3 separate regions of the Homo sapiens genome follow, and regions 2 and 3 are each linked to region 1. The links are contacts of gene promoters, found by promoter capture Hi-C in human tissues and cell types (Jung and others, 2019). All regions are on one chromosome and are shown on one strand. Each heading gives the region's core, a stretch centred on a gene start or on the middle of the fragment in contact. The rest is flanking DNA. Distances are from core to core; before and after follow the strand shown. Region 1 holds the start of CDC27 (cell division cycle 27). Region 2 overlaps LOC101927060 (a long non-coding RNA gene). Region 3 overlaps EFCAB13 (EF-hand calcium binding domain 13).

The links. The method cuts DNA at HindIII sites, captures the fragments that hold promoters and counts their contacts. A contact is called where the count stands out against the background at its distance.
Region 2: a contact is called between a fragment that was not itself captured here and the fragment with the promoter of CDC27 in region 1, in 1 of the 25 tissues and cell types used here (mesenchymal stem cells).
Region 3: a fragment that was not itself captured here is called in contact with the fragment with the promoter of CDC27 in region 1 in 4 of the 25 tissues and cell types used here (H1 embryonic stem cells, heart left ventricle, lymphoblastoid cells and 1 more).

Annotation. Positions count from the first base shown.
Region 1 is chr17:47,187,913-47,190,612 of GRCh38, reverse strand. CDC27 (cell division cycle 27) reads left to right here and starts at 1,318. Exons shown (of 19, transcript NM_001256.6): 1 at 1,318-1,467. The coding sequence starts at 1,441. It also overlaps a transcript of MYL4 not described here. RefSeq lists enhancers at 1,394-1,583, 1,114-1,710 and a silencer at 1,744-1,793. The HindIII fragment of the contact is 11,296 bases long and covers 1-2,700 here.
Region 2 is chr17:47,049,618-47,052,363 of GRCh38, reverse strand. The region is part of intron 3 of LOC101927060 (a long non-coding RNA gene); the gene reads left to right. It also overlaps the pseudogene LRRC37A17P. Among named protein-coding and RNA genes, the nearest start is that of RPRML, 72 kb to the right of the region's middle. The HindIII fragment of the contact is 5,470 bases long and covers 1-2,746 here.
Region 3 is chr17:47,441,206-47,443,951 of GRCh38, reverse strand. It overlaps EFCAB13 (EF-hand calcium binding domain 13), which reads right to left. Exons shown (of 25, transcript NM_152347.5): 25 at 2,640-2,746. Among named protein-coding and RNA genes, the nearest start is that of NPEPPS, 89 kb to the left of the region's middle. The HindIII fragment of the contact is 4,140 bases long and covers 1-2,746 here.

The DNA of each region.
Region 1 (2,700 bases), core at 69-2,568:
GTGGAGAAGGATGCAGTGTAGCTCTGTCAGCCTTGTTTTTAAAAATGAAAGAAAAAATATCTCCCTCTAACATCACCCAAAGGGAAATTTCCAAGCAATGGAATATATCATGATTCTCACATCTAGCCTAGAGAGCTCCTGACTAGAAAAGTAACTTTCAAAAACTGTTTCCTCATCTGCTGAAAAACAAAATTTAAACAGTCCCCTGGTTCACTCTTTTTGGGGGGAGAAGGGGAGCAGAAAGGAAATATGAGAGAGTCTACATTGCATGCTAGACACGGCCACATTTATAATACATCGAATTCTCTTAATCCTTTTTTTTCAAACTAAGCGAACATAAGTTCAGAGAGGTAATTTGCCAAGGACCTATGACTAGTTAGTGCTAAAGATAAAATTCAAAACCAGGCCTCTGAATTTCCGACCCCCTACTCTTCCCACCACAGCGGAATGCCTCACCTATCAAAAATAAAAATTTCTAATGGCCTATTGAGCTTTTCCATGATCTCTTCACCTAAGTAACTATTTCCAATTAATGCCTTCTTAGCAGACTGATCCCATTTTTCCTCCCTTCACTTTCCTATACTTCTTTTTCCTCTAATTTTACCCATCCTTCAAACTCCATTTTAAACTTTTTTTTCCTTCCATAGAACTTTCCTTATCTTATCACAATTGCCCTCTCTGAATTTTTATATTACTTATAATAGGCACCATATAATATAGCGTTCTCTGTTACACTGCTTTTCCCTTAAATAGACCTTAATCTCCTTGAAGACAGAAGCTATCCTATGTCTTTGGGGAGTGGCAATCTTTCCAAATTTCTTTAGCTTTCCCCCAGAGCCGTGAGTAGATACTTCTGGAATGGACGAATGATCTAAACTCAATAGACAAATACTTGTTGATTCATTAAAGACAGCCCCAAACTCTGCTGTTTCACCCTTTGCTTCATAATCTACAGCACACCAATTAATCCAAAAGGGCTGAGGGGCTAATCCACACTGCAGCCCCGCCACGTAACGCTACCCGCCCGCGCTGTCACGCCACGCCCAGCCTGCTGGTTGCAGATTTGGCGTAGCCCAACCCTGGGACGGCCGATTGGGCGTGGTGTGCGTGGCTGAAGGCGTGGCTGAGAAGAGAAACCTACGCTTTGGGTCAGACTCGGTAGCTTCCGGTAATCTTCGACAATTTCCGGCAACGGTTTTCTCTCTCGTCGACCAACCTCGGGTATTTCCGACTCCCTTCGGGCTTTTCCGTCTGGTTCCCGCTCGGCTTTCTCCACTTCGGGTATTCCCGTGTCCCGCTCGGAAGCACTCGGCAATCGCTCGGCCTCCCCCATCCCCCGGTAACGGTCGCTGGTGAGTTTAAATGAGCAGGGGCTGGCCGGGCCGGAGCCGCTACAGGGGGGGCCTGAGGCACTGCAGAAAGTGGGCCTGAGCCTCGAGGATGACGGTGCTGCAGGAACCCGTCCAGGTAATGATAACCTTCTTCTCTGGGGCTTGGCTGGCAGCCTCGGTCGGGAAGCAGCAGCGTAGGGCCACTCCGCGGCCTGGTGCGGCCTAGGCCCGGCTGCTTCTCCCGCCTCCCCTGCTGCCGTGTCCTGCCTATCTTTAGTCAGTTCGGAGGCCTTGCCCACAGCCTAAGCCGTGTTACCTCTGGCCCTACATTACTTCACCCTTAGCGTGAGCGGCTTCGGCGAAAATAACCGCCTTTCCCGTCCGAGCCAACGTCCGGCCAGCCTTTCCTGTCAGTCCAGGGGCCTGGCTTGACTGGGGGTGGGAGATGAGGGGCCGAAAATGCACCCCAAGCGCTCTCTTGCCTAAAAGATGATCGAGAAGCACATTTGATCGGAGCTTGTGTGATCTTCGTGACGGTAGGGCAAGTTTACGGAGGTTTTTTTTATTTTGTCTTGTATGAGAGGGTGGAGGGAGCGTAGGATCGGTCTTTTTAATACTAATTTCTATTTTGGTAACAGACTTCCTATCCCACGTTTCCTTTCTCGGTGAATTTCCCACCGGACAATGATGGTTTGAGAAGACAACTCCAAGCCTCAGTGCTGAGGCGCAAGCACCAATACCAGGGGAGGAGGTGGAAAGGGCACATTTGGGTTGTTTTCATCCTCTCTGATGGGGATCAGGAGCATTTTGTTGTGCATGTTTATAAGGCATTCAGGAAATGAAACACAAATAATGGTGTTTCTGTCCATTTCACTGCCTTTACACCAGGGTATGCTTTGACGCACAGTGCTGTGTTGCATTAAAGGAACCCTATTGGATTTTAAGTGTGTGATGCGGTGCCAAGTCATTTTCCCCCCTGACATCTGGAGAAACTGTATCTTTTGTGCCTTGGTAATGGACCAGGTCTGGGAGACTTCATCCCACTATATGATCTTTAACTTGATCAGAATTGACCTCTATCAACTGCTGTCATTGAGTCATGGACTTTATTTTGAAGTTATAAAGCAAACTGATTTTTAGAAATTCCTTCATATTGCCCTTAAAAGGCTTGAGGTATCAAACAGTAAATATTTTAATATATCACTACTTTCATATTTATTTCATTTTTCTAAACAGCATGAAATACTCATTTCTTCTAGTTTGGTTTTTTTCTCCAGCTGTTTACATATAGCAGCTATTAGTGTTTGAATTAATAAAACGTAAGATTATATCTTATGAAATTTACCTGTCTGTAAGTTGTATTAGTTTT
Region 2 (2,746 bases), core at 154-2,653, 140 kb after region 1:
GGTGTGACTGGGGTATAGTGAGGGGCTGCTGTGGCTGGAATGGAGGGCTGCCACAATAATGGAAATGGTAAATGAGGCAAATAAGGTTGGACTGGTGGCATAGCGTCAAGGTTGCCAGCTTTATTAAATCACTCTTCCAATATGCTAGCACTGGCCTGTTGGGAAAAGTAATATATCATGTAATCGAACAAAAGACAAACAGAGGCAAGCTCCAGGAATGGGCACTGTAAACAGGACTTGCCCCAGAGTAGCCAGATGTAGGCTTTAGATAAGTTGATGCAGGCTGAGCATCTCTAATCTGAGGGGGAATGTCTCACATGGTGTCCAAGAAATGGTGACACATCTCACAGAGGGTCTAGGCTCAGGAGGGCTAGAGTATGAGACGTTCCCCCTCGCCTGTGAACTTAAAAATGTGGCCAACAATTTTTGTAAAAGATGGCTACTCTGTAGTGCTTTAACTGGACCTATTTAGACAATGCCTTACACACTGGAGGACGATACTGTGTAAATCTAATAAGTCTACAAGACAATACTTCTGTCTTTTGGCTCTCTCCTTCCTCTCCAGGGTGATGACAAATCCGTGAGGGTGGAGATTATACCTCTCTCATCATTTCAGCACCAAGGAAATAAATTAGTGGCAGAGTAAGGGTGACTTGATGAGTACATCCAATTGTTGACATAGTTTTGGGTGGAGAAATTTTGCTATTATATCGACTTCTTAAAATAGTCTAGTGGGATTAACTTGGTTTCAATTCACAGAGATCTGGAAGCGAGGATCTTTTAAAAATCCTGAAATATACACTGCAATAAAAGAACAAAGCATACACCTCAGCCTTAAATGACTGAAGAAGTATGTCAAGTAGCAGCAGGTGGGAAAGTGGCTTTGGTTTTCAGTTTGTGAGCTCTGAATCCACACAGAAACAGGACTGCATTCTGACAACCTGAATTAATTATTGTCCTTACCACAATGAGGCAGAAAAGTATAATAAAAATCATTAGTATTTCAGTCACAATTAATGCCAAGATGAGTTTGTCAGTATAGCCATATCCTGGAACTTATTTTGTGAGCTAAAAAAAACAAAAAAACAAAACAAAAAAAAACACACCAGAATGAGAGCTAACTATTCAAAACCCCAGTATTCCAGGTGAGTAGCTTACAGGTTCTTTTTTATTTTTTTGAAAGAGGGTCTCACTCTGTTACCCAGGCTGGGGTACAGTGGTGCAATCACCGTTCACTAGACTCGACCTCCCTGGGCTCAGGTGACCCTCCCACCTCAGCCTCCCAAGTAGCTGGGACTACAGGCACGTGTCATCAACCCAGCTAATTTTTTTATTTTTTGTGGAGACAGGCTTTCACTATGTTGGCCAAGCTGGTCTCAAACTCCTGACTTCAAGTAATCCACCCACCTTGGCCTCCCAAAGTGCTGAGATTACAGGCATGAGCTACCACCCCTGGCCTACAGTTCATCTTGTGCCCTAATCTATATTTCACTCTCTACATGAGCAAAGTGGGAGATCACTGTCATGACCAAAGTTACATGGCCAAGATAAGCTATGGCCTGGGAGTCCCAGATTCTTCTGTGTGGGCACTTTCCTGGGATATGCTAAATGATGGGAAATCTGGGTCTCATGTTTCTGTGTGGTCCTCACCTCAAGCGACTTCTCTTTCTGTTCACTCTGGGCTTCCGTGCTCTCATTAATGTAGTTCTGAGTCTTCCATTGGTCCGTATCCCATTCTATCTCAGATGCCTTTACTTCCTGCTGCCCACTGAGAAGCTTCATCAGGTGGCCTGTCCTGGAGATGAGCTTGGCACAGGTCACTTGCACATGGGCCCCAGAGCAGTCCATCTTCAAGGTCCGGATAACATGAGAAATGAGCCTTCTCACATTGTTGGGGATAAGGGACTGTAGCTGCTGGGTTAGCTGAATTTCAAACTGAGCAATGGGTAATTGAAGCTTTTGGGCTCGGGGGACAGGTCAGTGCCCACGTTGTTGTATTCCCATTTTGTCTCAGTTTGTTTAACAGTTGGCCCTAAGTTGAATGCAGTCCCAGCGGAATCTGCCTCAGGAGGATGATTGTAGTTTGTGTTTTCAGAGATGGTGACTTCTGGCATGTTAGTGTTTTCCATAAAAACATTTTCTTCCAAGGCATTTCTTGCAGTTGTGTCTTTTATATTAGTGGTTTCTATAAAATGTTCTGAAGGAGCAGATACTTCCAGAAAAGGGTTTTCTTGAGGACTCAGGTCTCCTAAGGATGAAAAAGCCCCTTGTGAAGGGGAATTTATGAGGCTCTTCGCTGCAGAGAACGGAGGCCTGTTTGCGAGCATCAGTCTACTCAGATAACTTTTCTTTCTGAACTTTGGACTCTTTTTGACCTTGGGTGTTCTGTGGGTCATGCGGGAGCGAGTTTTGTGAAAGCGGTATTTTTTTCTGGAATGTGAAATTGGTTTAGAAGCCTTCATATTTGTAACTCTAGCCTTTGCACTTTCTAAAATGGAAATAGTGTGTGTGTTGTCTTTCCATCTGTCTCTCACCTGTGGTAGGGCTTTTGCAGGGCTGGAGGTAGAAGGCGCGCCCTTGGAGAAGGGTGTCAGCACAGAGACTGCTGCCTTATGCTCTTGGGTGAACGAAGGCTTGGTGTAGATGGCGTTTCCCGCTAACTTCTCAGGCCCCTGCTGTGTGTGAGGCTGTTCCAGCTCCCTTGGGGCTGGACTCCCGAGCCTTTTTTCTTCGGCAGCGTTCTCCA
Region 3 (2,746 bases), core at 122-2,621, 250 kb before region 1:
GAACACAAAATGAGACCCCATCTCTACAGAAAAAATGTTTAAAATTAGCCAGGTGTAATGGTGTGTGCCTGTAGTCCCAGTTACTTGCAAGGCTGAGGCAAGAGGTTGCTTGAGCCCAAGAGTTGGAGGCTGCAGTGAACCATGATCATGCCACCTGCACTCCAGCCTGAGCAACAAGCAAGACCCTCTCCCTAAAAGAAATAAATAAATTAGAAATCAATAATAATTAAGATATCTAGAAAATGTCCCAATATTTGGAAATTAAAGACTACATTTCTAAATAACCTACACTTCAAAGAAAAAATCATTAGGTAAATTAGAAAATATTTTAGTAAATGATAAAAAGCACAACATAACAACGTTTGTGAGATGCAATGAAAGACATATTAGGGGAAAATTTGCAGTTTTAATGTTAGAAAAGGATAAAAATCAGTTATCTAAGCTTCTATCTTAACAAGCTAGCAAAGAAGGGTAAATGAAGCCCAAAGTAAACAAAGACCAAATGATAGTAACAATAAAAATATAAACCAATGAAAAAGAAAAACAAAAGAGAAAAGTTAACAAAAATTAACAAAATCACCATTTGTGTAAAATTATTAATAAATTTAATAACTCCCTAGCAAGACTGGTTACAAACAAAAAAGAGAAAATAGAAATTACAAACATCAGGAATGAAAAATAAGACATCACACTATAGACATTAAAAGGATAATAAGGGGATATTATGAACAATTTCATGACAATAAACCTGACAAATTACATAAAATAAACTTTGACAAGACACAGTTCCACTTATAGAAAGTATATTTCTTCTTTATGATACTTACAGAAAGATATAGTGACAACTACAGAAAGATTTAGAAGAGGGAGGCTCTAAAGAGCTATATATCCATTGAATAAATAGAGCTCAATATTTTAAATCTTCAGGAATAGATGGTGAATTCTACCAAACATTTAATGAAAACAATAATCCTAATCATAATCATAAACTGATATGGTTTGGCTGTGTCCCCACCCAAATCTCACCTTGAATTGTAATAATCCTCAAGTGTCAAGGGTGGGGCCAGTGGACATAATCGAATCATGGGGGCAGTGTCCCCATAAGTGAATAAGTCTCACGAGATTTAATGGTTTTTATAAATGGGAGTTCCCCTGCACAAGCCCTCTTGCCTGCCGCCATGTAAGAGGTGAATTTGCTCCTCATTCGCCTTCCACCATGATTGTGAGGTCTCCCCAGCCATATGGAACTGTGAGTCAGTTAAACCTCTTTCTTTTATAACTTACCCAGTCTCAGATATTTCTTTATTAGCAGCATTAGAACCAACTAATGCACAAACTCAACCAGAAATAAAAAAGGGAGGGAAGACTTCCCAACTCATTTTATGAGGTCAGCATAACCCTAACAAAAAAATCTGGAAAAGACACTAAAAGAAAACTATAGACCAATATCCCTCATAAACATACTCTCAAAAATCTTTAATAAAATATTAGAAAATCAATAAGGTTAAGAGCTCTGTTGTATAACATGGTGACTACAGTTAATAACAATGTATAATATTTTTGAAAATTGCTAAGAGAAAAGATTTTGTGTTCTCATCACAAAAATAGGTATGTGAGGTAAAACACGTTAATTAATTCAATTTAGCCATTCCACAATGTATGTACATATTTTGAATCATGCAATATACAGTACATACAATTTGTATTTGTCTATTTAAAAATTAAAGGGTGACTATAGTTAATAATGTATTGAATGTTCTCACTACAAAGAAATGATAAATGTTTGAGCTGATGGTGTGAAAGGAAAATAAATCTCGGTATCCCAAAATCACTAAGCCAAAGGGAAAAGTCAAGCTGGGAACTGTGTCAGGCAAACCTACCTCCCATTCTATTCCTAAAGGAGATAGCAACAGAGATAAAAAATAAAATAAAATAAAATAAAATAAAATAAAAGAAGAAGCTACATTAACTCCCTCACAATTTGCCCATAAGGAAATTCCCCGCTTCAAATTGTCTTTCCCCTGCCCTTCTGGCCAATGTACATCTTACATGTATTGATTGATATTTCATGTCTCCCTAAAATGTATAAAACCAAGCTGTGCCCCAACCACCTTAGGCACATGTGTCAGGACCTCCTAAGTCTGTGTCATGGGCACACCCTTAACCTTGGCAAAAATAAGCTTTCTAAATTAATTGAATCCTGTTTCTGATATTTGGGGTTCACAATGGGTTGCTACTTACACTGATTTGATTATTATACAATGTATAAATGAAAGTACAATTATGTATCAATTTAAACATTTTTTAAAACACTTCTAATGTGTAGATTAACTTCTTCATTTATATTTAAATATGAATCTTCAGCAAAATAGCAAAAGTAACCATCTTGATTTAATGTCCTAGTATTTTCTTCCAAAAAATGAATTGTATAACCTTAGGTGAGGACAATAAAATCAGTTAAACTGTAAGTTTAGAACAGATCTGAGGGATAATTTTGCACAGCAGCTTTACTAATGGTACATTGTTGATTCAACAAAATGTTGGTTACACATACACACACACACACACACACACACACACACACACACACACACACAACTTAGTGGGAAACAAACAGCCAAAGGGATCAGTACCTCAACTTTGGGGGTCCTCAAATAAAGCTTTATTTGGAATTTGTAATACTGCAACCAGAACCAATCAGAATCCATTTTTTCTAGGGAGGGTTGGTAGTATAAATGAGAGTATA